Regions from separate parts of the Homo sapiens genome. Here regions 1 and 3 are each linked to region 2. The links are contacts of gene promoters, found by promoter capture Hi-C in blood cells and fetal thymus (Javierre and others, 2016). All regions are on one chromosome and are shown on one strand. Each heading gives the region's core, a stretch centred on a gene start or on the middle of the fragment in contact. The rest is flanking DNA. Distances are from core to core; before and after follow the strand shown. Region 1 overlaps DDI2 (DDI proteasomal shuttling factor 2). Region 2 holds the start of FBLIM1 (filamin binding LIM protein 1). Region 3 overlaps DDI2 (DDI proteasomal shuttling factor 2).

Region 1 (2,700 bases), core at 47-2,546, 110 kb before region 2:
TGGATTTTGTATTTGTTTGTATTTTACTTTAGATGGTTTTCATAAATGTCTTGTGATCCTTGGCATCAGCTCACATTGAAGAGTGGGCCACTGGCTGGCCGGGATGGCTCACACCTATAATCCCAGTGCTTTAGGAGGCTCATGTGGGATGATGGCTTGAGGCCAGGAGTTTGAGACCAGCCTGGGCAACATAGGGAGAATTCGTCTCTACAAAAAATTTTTTTAAATAGCCGGGTGTGGTGGCAAGTGCCGATGGTGCCAGCTACTCGAGAGGCTAAGGCAGGAGGATTGCTTGAGCCAGGGAGATAGAGGCTGCAGTGAGCTGTGTTCATACTACTGTACTCCAGCTTGGATGACAATGAGAACTCGTCTCAAAAAAAAAAAAAAAAAGAGTGGGCCACCAAAAGGCTTGTTTGGTAAATGACCTGGGTAGGCAGCCATGGCTCTTGTGGCCTTCACTGTAGGGTGGGTCTGAAAGTTGGGAGGGAGAAAAAGGCTGGCATCTCAGTTGGATTTTATTTATTCCCCCTGGTTTTCAGTTGGATACTTGTTCTGTCCCTGTCTCCCTCCATGCTCACCTCTGTTAAGAGTGCCTCTGTTTCACCCTCTCCAGAAAATAAGCCTCTAGTCTGCTACTGGGGTGAAGGGTCTCCTGGCCTAGCAGAGTGCGGGAGGGACACCCCAAGGGCTAACTGTGCCTCTGCGGCCTTCCCGCCAGCCTTGCTGCTTTGGGTCCATCTCTCCTCCTATCTGCAGAAGTATTTATGACCAGTTCCTATGCTCCATAGGAGTTCTGTGATGTCAGTTGGGTTACTGCTCAGTTTTCCTCACTGTCATCTGCTTTTTAGCTCTAAAATTTTGTTCCTGTGGTCTCTACTATTATATTTGGCCTTAAAAATGTATGCCTTAGGGCTGGGCATGGTGGCTCATGCCTGTAATCCCAGCACTTTGGGACCCCGAGGCAGGTGGATCACCTGAGGTCAGGAGTTCGAGACCAGCCTGGCCAACATGGTGAAACCCTGTCTCTACTAAAAATACAAAAATTAGCCGGGCGTGGTGGCGGGTGCCTGTAATCCCAGCTATTCGGGAGGCTGAGGCAGGAGAATCGCTTGAACCTGGGAGGCAGAGGTTGCAGTAAGCTGAGATTGTGCCATTTCACTCCAGCCTGGGCAATAAGAGTGAAACTCCATCTCTAAAGAAAAAAAAAAATGTGTGCCTTAGACAAAACCCAAAAACCTTTTTTGCAATGTTTTAGGAGTAAATGTAGATAAATGCATGTGTTCAGTCATTCATCTCTAATCAGAATTGTTTTTGTTTTCTTCTTCCATTATCCATTTAATAGATGCTTACTGTAGAGAACTTCAAAAGTATAGAAATGTGAGATGAAGGAAAAAAACATCCCTTAAATTCCTGTAGTGAGAATCAACCACCAGTATCATTTGGGCATATCTCCTGGTCTTTTTTCTGTGCACTTTTTTATCTTATAAAAGGTGATTATTTCTGTTTAAAATTTTATATTCTGCTCAAAGAAAAAGTGAAACAACATTTTCCCAATGTCACCATGAATTTCAAAAGAATTATTTAAATAAATGAATAAATGTATAGCATTCTGTTGCAGGTTTAAGGATCAGCTTTTGGGTTGTTTCTTTTTTTCTTTTTCTTTTTTTTTTTGAAACAGAGTCTCACTCTGTTGCCCACACTGGAGTGCGGTGGCGTAATCTTGGCTCACTTCAACCTGTGCCTCCCAGGTTCAAGTGATTCTCCTGCCTCAGCCTCCCGAATAGCTGGGATTACAGGCACCTGCTACCACACCCGGGTAATTTTTGGATTTTTAGTAGAGACAGGGTTTCACCATGTTGCCCAGGCTGGTCTCGAACTCCTGAGCTCAAAGTGATTCGCCTGCCTCAGCCTCCCAAAGTGCTGGGATTACAGGCGTGAGCTGCTGCGCCTGGCTGGTGATGTTTCCTATTAGAACATGGCAGTATAGTTTTCTGCACATTTTGATTTTTTCCCCCTAGTCAAGATTCCTATAAGTGAAACTACTGAATCAAAGTTACGGATGCTTTAGGACTCTTGATATGTTGCTAACCTGTACCAATCCAGTTTATCCACCACTGAATGAATATTCATCTTAGTGTCCTATACTGTTAAGGAATATTAGTTTTCCCTCTTAAATTTACAAATAAGGTGGGTGTGGTGGCTCATGTCTGAAATCCTAGCACTTTGAGAGGCCAAGGTGGGCAGATTGCTTGAGCTCAGGAGTTTGAGACCAGCCTGGGGGCCATAGCGAAACCACATCTCTACTAAAACTACAAAAAATTAGCCGGTTGTCATGACCGTACGCCTGTAGTCCCAGCTACTCAGGAGGCTGAGGTGAGAGGATCACTTGAACCCGGGAGGCAAAGGTTGCAGTGAGCCGAGATCATGCCAGTGTACTTCAGCCTGGGCAATAGAGCAATACTCTTTTCTCAAAAAAAATTTTTTTTTACAAATAAAAGAGTGGTTTCTTATTGTAAGTTACTTTTCTTTCATTGTAAATGATAGTTTTTCTGCACATTTGCTCTTCCTTTCTTTTGAAATATGTATGTCTGTTTATTAGGGTCTTTGTGTTTCTCTTATTGATTTGTGTAGGATAAAGATAGTTCAACTACCTTACACTTTCCTAAACACAGTAGGACTAAGAGTTTTGCAGGAATACCA
Region 2 (2,868 bases), core at 124-2,623:
GAGGATGGGTACCAGCACCTAGAAAGCCCCTATCAATGGCAGCTCCTGGGACTGCTGCTGTTACTGCAGCTTGGCTGAGAGGATCAAATGGGAAAAGGGGCGACAAGAGGGATGGGAGGGGCGATGATCAGTGGGTGAGGGCGGAGGCAGCCTCCTCTGACCCTCATAAACCAGCCTCCCTCAGAAACAGCCCCAGAGCCACCCTGGAGGGGTGACTGTAGCTGAGGGGTTGCAGGACGGGCCAGATCCTGTCTGGCCACCCCGCAGATGGCGCTGGGTCCAGCGCTCCTCAAGCCTCAGCCACTGTGGCTTTAATCAAAAGAACAATCTGTCTGCCTCTGAATCAGACCCAGATTCCTTTCCCCACAATGTCCCTGAGGCCTCCAGGGACCCAGGCAGTCCATCCCGGCCCCATCCCGGGCCCCAGAGTCCAGGCTCTGCCTCCCCTCCCGCTCCCGTCCTAATTGCTCCAGCTGGGAGGGGGAGGGTCACTGGATGTGGAGGGAGGGGTTCAGCCACAGGGCCAGCCGGGCCCTGCCTTCCAGAGCTCCTGGAGCGGCCTGTCCCCCGGGACACCGGGACCCACCTGCAGAGGGCTTACCGCTCAGGAGAGCAGAACAAGGTGACCTGCTCCACTGGGGGTCTCCGAGACCCCCACCCTCAGGAACACTCCCGGAAAAAGCCCCCAACCCAGCATATATTAACCACTATTAATCACAGTCCTGGCTGTAACTGTCACCTTTTATCCTCAGGCCAACCTGGAGAGGTAGGCAGTGGCTACCTCCACTTTACAGATGAAGACACTGAGGCTCAGGAGGTGGCGTGACTGCTCCGGGTCTCACGCTTAGTAAACGGCCGCAGAACCCTGGTCGGTTTGACGCAAGACCCTGGCGGATCCCAGAGCCAAAGTAAGCGCTCACCTCCGCCGGACAGGGTAGGTGGGGTTGCCAACCCAGGAGAGCGAGGGAAGGGGGACGGCAGGGACCACTCGGGGTCCATGAAGAACGCGAGGGGATGGGCAGCGGGGAGGGAAGGAAACCCACCCCGACTCCCCATTCTCCTACCCCCACTCCCCATCCCTCCCATTCCCCCATCGCCCCCATCCCCATTCCCCCCCATTCCCACCCCCTGGCCTGTGCCAAGGGGGAGGGGAGGCGTCGTCCAGGGAACAAAGGGAGGGGGAAGGGGCGGCGCGGGGCGCGGCCGGGCAGGTTGGGGGGCAGGTAGGGGCCGCTTCCGCGGGGCGGGAATCCCGCGCCCCCTCCCCCCGAGCCTCACCTTTTATGGTAAAGCGGCGCGGGGCGGCGGGGCGGAGGGAGCCGAGGGGGCGGGGAGGGCGGACGGGCGGAGGGGACGGGAGGCCCAGCGGCTCCGGGCTCCGCTGGCTCGGGCGTCGGATCGGAGCCGCCGGGGCGCGGGCGGCCCAGGTAAGCGGGCCGGGTGGGTGGGGGTCGCGTCCCTCCGTCCCTGTCCCCGGTGCACACAGGTGACAGCGCCGGCAGTGCTCGGCCGGAGCCTGCTCGGTCGCCAGCCGGGACCCCCGGCGCGGCGCCCCTGGAGGGGCCTGCGGGTGGGGGGTGCGGTCCTCACGCCCTTTGCGTCCCAGTCTCTTGGTCTCTCTCCCCGGAGTCGGGGAGTCGGCAGGTCCGGGGCGAGGGCTCAGTGAGGCCGGCGGAGGGCCGAGTCCCAGCCCGGGAGCGGGAGCCGGGGACCCGGCGCGCAGGGCGGAAGCTCCCGCACAAAAGGCCGGAGTCCCGCACATGGATCGAATTAAAGCTCCGGCGGCGCCCAGCGGTGACCCCGGCGGCCGCCCTGCTCGGCTGCCTGCGGAGGGTCCCGCGTTTCCGGAGCCCGGGGGCGCTCCAGGCCCCTTTTCCTAGCCAGGGTCAGGCAAGGGGAGGGACGGGTCCCGGGGCTGCTCCTCTCTGGGCCTCACGCGCCCGTCGGGGGCTGAGAAGGTGTGGAGATGGGCGATACCCAGGTGTGTGCCCTGGGATGATCTTGGCGTCGGCCCCTACCCCTCACCTCCCACCCAAGCCTGAGGACCCCGGGGAGAGGCTGGGGCCGCGCCCAGATTCCTGCTCTTAATGACGCTGTAGGTTCTGTCCGGGTCCTGGAGGCACCCCCAGCCGAGCCCAGCCCCCGGGCTGCTTCTCCCTCTCAGCTGCTGCCTAACCAGCTGTCCTTCTCTTTGCACCTTCCAAGGGCCTAGACCCTGAGTCTTCTTTCCTTATATATCCTCTCAGCCGCCCTAGGGACACACTCATTCTCACTTTATGAAAAAACGAGGCCAGAGAGTTTCTGTGACCTATTCGGGGTCACCCCGCAGGAAAGAAGTGGGGCCGCGTGTGAACCCAGCTCTCTACCTCCTCTGTTTCCCTGGGGTGGGAAAGAGGTTGAGGGAACCCCTCCCCTAAGTTGCAGGGTGGGAGGGGTTGGGGCACACCCCGCCACTTCTGCCTAAATTTAATTCCGTACCCAAAGGTAGACTGCTTTATCCGGTCATTAAAGAACAAAGCTGGCCGGGAGCGGTGGCTCACGCCTGTAATCCCAGCACTTTGGGAGGCCGAGGCGGGCGGATTACCTGAAGTCAGGAGTTGGAGACCAGCCTGGCCAACGTGGTGAAACCCCGTCTCTACTAAAAATACAAAAATTAGCCGGGTGTGGTGGCGCGCGCCTGTAATCCCAGCTATTCGGCGGCTGAGGCACGAGAATCGCTTGAACCCAGGAGGCGGAGGTTGCAGTGAGCCGAGATCGCACCACTGCGCAGCCTGGGCCACAGAATGAGACTCTGTCTCAAAATAAATAAATAAATAACAAAGCTTAAGCCGGGTGTAGTGGCTCAAGCCTGTAATCCCAGCACTCTGG
Region 3 (2,953 bases), core at 331-2,830, 95 kb before region 2:
TGTTAAAATTTAGGCCTTTTTAAATGTATTGGCAGTATGTGCATACAGAAGCTTTTTATTCTCATTAAGATGTATCCTGGAATAAAATGGATGGTTTTGTGTGTAGCATACTGTTTTAGAATGAGAGTAAATGCTTTGAAAAGCAGAAGCCATGAGAAATCCCACTACCCATCCAGCTAAAAACAGATGAACTCTCCACACTGTGACTGTGTGTCTGTGCTGATGGCAAGGTATGGTTTGCTGGCTCAGTTGTCAATTTAGAAACTTTTGACCACATAATTTGGTGTTTGGAATTCTACCCAGTGCTCTGTGTATCATGATTCATTAATTATAACAGGAAATTGGAGAATAATTGAATATCTTATCGTAGAGTGGTATGTTTTTATTTGTGTGCTTAGGATTTGACATTTTAATAGGGCGAGCAGGAGGGTTTAAATCTTGGGCTACTTTGTGCATCACAGGCTGCTGCATGGATTGCCATGAATCCTTATTACATTGGATGGGATATTGTGGGGGAGTTACAATGCAAGTGAAACGTGGTGCTACCCAGATTCTTAAAAGAACAGAACAACCATAATTCCATTTGCAGATGTCAAGAACTGTGAGGGAAAAATAATGGCCTAAACACTGGAATTTGCTAGAGTTTGGGTTTGCTAGCATCTCACTGATAACACCTCAACCCTTAATGACTAATGGTGGAATTAAGTTCAGGAATGGATTCATTGCCAGCAGCTTATTTCCTTTCTAGACTCTTCTGCCAGGAAGTTCTTCAAACGCTCAGTGTGAGCTGTGATCTGAGTGAAATACTAAGTGTGATAACCTTGTCACTGGTTAATCTTGGTGCTTGGAACGGTCAGTCTATTTGGAGAGTGTCCTTTGTGGCAGTGGAAATAGTAATTACAGTTTCTGACTTAAGTGGCCTTGGTAGAGTTTTCCATCCTTTTCTTTCCTCAGGAGTTTCTTTTTTAAGCAAAATTCATCTTATTTGTGTTTACCATGTCAAGTTAGAGTGGGGCATAATATATAGATGTATTTATTGTGGCCTTTTTTTATATAAGGACTAGCCCTTGGAAATCATTGTCCTGTGGGCCCCACTGTGCAATAATCCTACTGGATAGGTTTTAGATAATTCTTTCCTGGCAAACTGCTCTTTTGGGTACCTAGCAGGAATCTGAAGTCTTGGTTTTATTGAAAAGAATTTTGAGATTCATAATTTCTGATTCTAGATTATAGTTTGTAACATGTTTGAAACAGAAGCTTCGAAAGAGTGATTTCTCAACTTAGTGTTAAATGATTTTGTCTGAAGTCTGACTCTTTGTAAGCTTGTTTGTTTCATCAAATTTTAAGTCATTGAGCACAATCAAAATGGAGGCTCATATCTCAGGAGTTTTTGAAATTTTAATTTAGGGGCACTTAGAGACATTTTTTTCTACCCCATCCAACTTCTTTCTTTCCTTTTGCTATGATGTTTGTATGTATGTTATAAGACTTTAGTGATGGGATGGCGTGTCACGTAGATTCATCATGATCCTTTATGTAGTTAGGAAATGGTTGACAGAAGGAATTGTAGTTTACTGCTTTTCAGAGGGCGTGAAGAACAACAGGTCAGCCAGGTTGTCTTTAAGATGTTCTTTTAGACAGCTGCACATTGTAGACCCTTTCACCTGCCCTACACCAAAGATGTACGATGCACTAGGAAACTGCTCATAGGATTTCTGTCAGCTGACTTAAAGCTGTGATTGTAATTAAATAGTTGGTGCTATGATTGATGCAAAATCTAGTAGCAATGCAATGGGACCCTGTATTTGCTTTATGGGTGGTGGTTTGGGAATGTATTCTAAGCTTATAAATCTTTGGAACCACGGGGTGGGAAGGGTGGGGGAACTTACTGATGACAATAGACTCCCTCCTAAAGGGCCTTCCATGTAAGCAGAACGAACCTTGGCACACAATTCAGTGTGGATATTTGGGAAACAGTTCCAAGTGGAATATATAATATCAGTCGGGAAAAGATTTCATTAGGATAGCTTTTTGTGTATGTATATGTATATTTATTTTTAGGAATAGATCTATAGTTGTACATGAATTCCTGTTAGGAATACTCTGAATGAGCTTAACCCACTTGCCAAATATCCTTGTCCCTTCCATCATTTTATTTTTGAGATGGGGTCTTGCAGTGTTGCCCAGGCTGGACTCAAACTCTGGGGCTTAATCATCCTTCTGAGTAGCTGGGACTACATAAAGGCCAAAGTATAATTGCTTTTGATTTTTAAAATCTTCTTGCCCATCATTTTTATAAAAATAAAGCTGTTTGTCCAACACGGTGAAACCTCATCTCTACTAAAAATACAAAAAATTAGCTGGGCATGGTGGCACACGCCTGTAATCCCAGCTACTTGGGAGACTGAGGCAGGAGAATTGCTTGAACCTGGGAGATGGGGGTTGCAGTGAGCCTAGATCACGCCACTGCACTCCAGTGTGGGCGGCAGAGTGAGACTCTGTCTCACCCAAAAAAAAAAAAAAAAAGCTATTGACACTGTTAATATTTTGGATGACTTAAATTTAGCAGCTCTAGAATGCAAAGGGTATATTAAGGAGCATTACAATAGTGAACCTTCATCGTCAGCTTTTATTCAATTAAGAGCTCCAGAAATGCAGAAATTATGGGTTAACTTCTAAGAATACCATCAAATCCCTGTGAATTCTGGTTGCCAACAGTAATAACCAGTAATGGGCACCTTTACCGGACAGCTCCTTTACCATAACCAGTAGTGGGCAGTTCTGCGGTCAGCACTTAACTACAAGGGCGGTCTCTGTTTCTTCACCAGAGAGAGAAGATTTTCCTGTGTAATTTGTGCCATTTCCCTGAAGTTGGTTCTTGAGCGGAAAGATGTGCTTGGTAACCAGACAGCAGCTTTACATAGGTTATAGATTTTGCTCATTGATGCTGTTA

Evidence for each region. Contacts are between HindIII fragments. The CHiCAGO score rates a contact against its expected background, and 5 or more counts as called.
Region 1: a fragment that was not itself captured here is called in contact with the fragment with the promoter of FBLIM1 in region 2 in 1 of 17 cell types (naive B cells); the score reaches 5.2 in naive B cells.
Region 3: a contact is called between a fragment that was not itself captured here and the fragment with the promoter of FBLIM1 in region 2, in 1 of 17 cell types (M1 macrophages). The highest score is 5.2, in M1 macrophages.

The regions. Positions count from the first base shown.
Region 1 is chr1:15,645,495-15,648,194 of GRCh38, forward strand. The region is part of intron 6 of DDI2 (DDI proteasomal shuttling factor 2); the gene reads left to right. Among named protein-coding and RNA genes, the nearest start is that of RSC1A1, 13 kb to the right of the region's middle. The HindIII fragment of the contact is 3,164 bases long and covers 1-2,700 here.
Region 2 is chr1:15,757,422-15,760,289 of GRCh38, forward strand. It overlaps FBLIM1 (filamin binding LIM protein 1), which reads left to right and starts at 1,374. Exons shown (of 9, transcript NM_017556.4): 1 at 1,374-1,427. The HindIII fragment of the contact is 4,964 bases long and covers 1-2,820 here.
Region 3 is chr1:15,661,926-15,664,878 of GRCh38, forward strand. DDI2 (DDI proteasomal shuttling factor 2) reads left to right here. Exons shown (of 10, transcript NM_032341.5): 10 at 1-2,953. RSC1A1 (regulator of solute carriers 1) reads left to right here. Exons shown (of 1, transcript NM_006511.3): 1 at 1-108. Among named protein-coding and RNA genes, the nearest start is that of RSC1A1, 3.7 kb to the left of the region's middle. The HindIII fragment of the contact is 520 bases long and covers 1,321-1,840 here.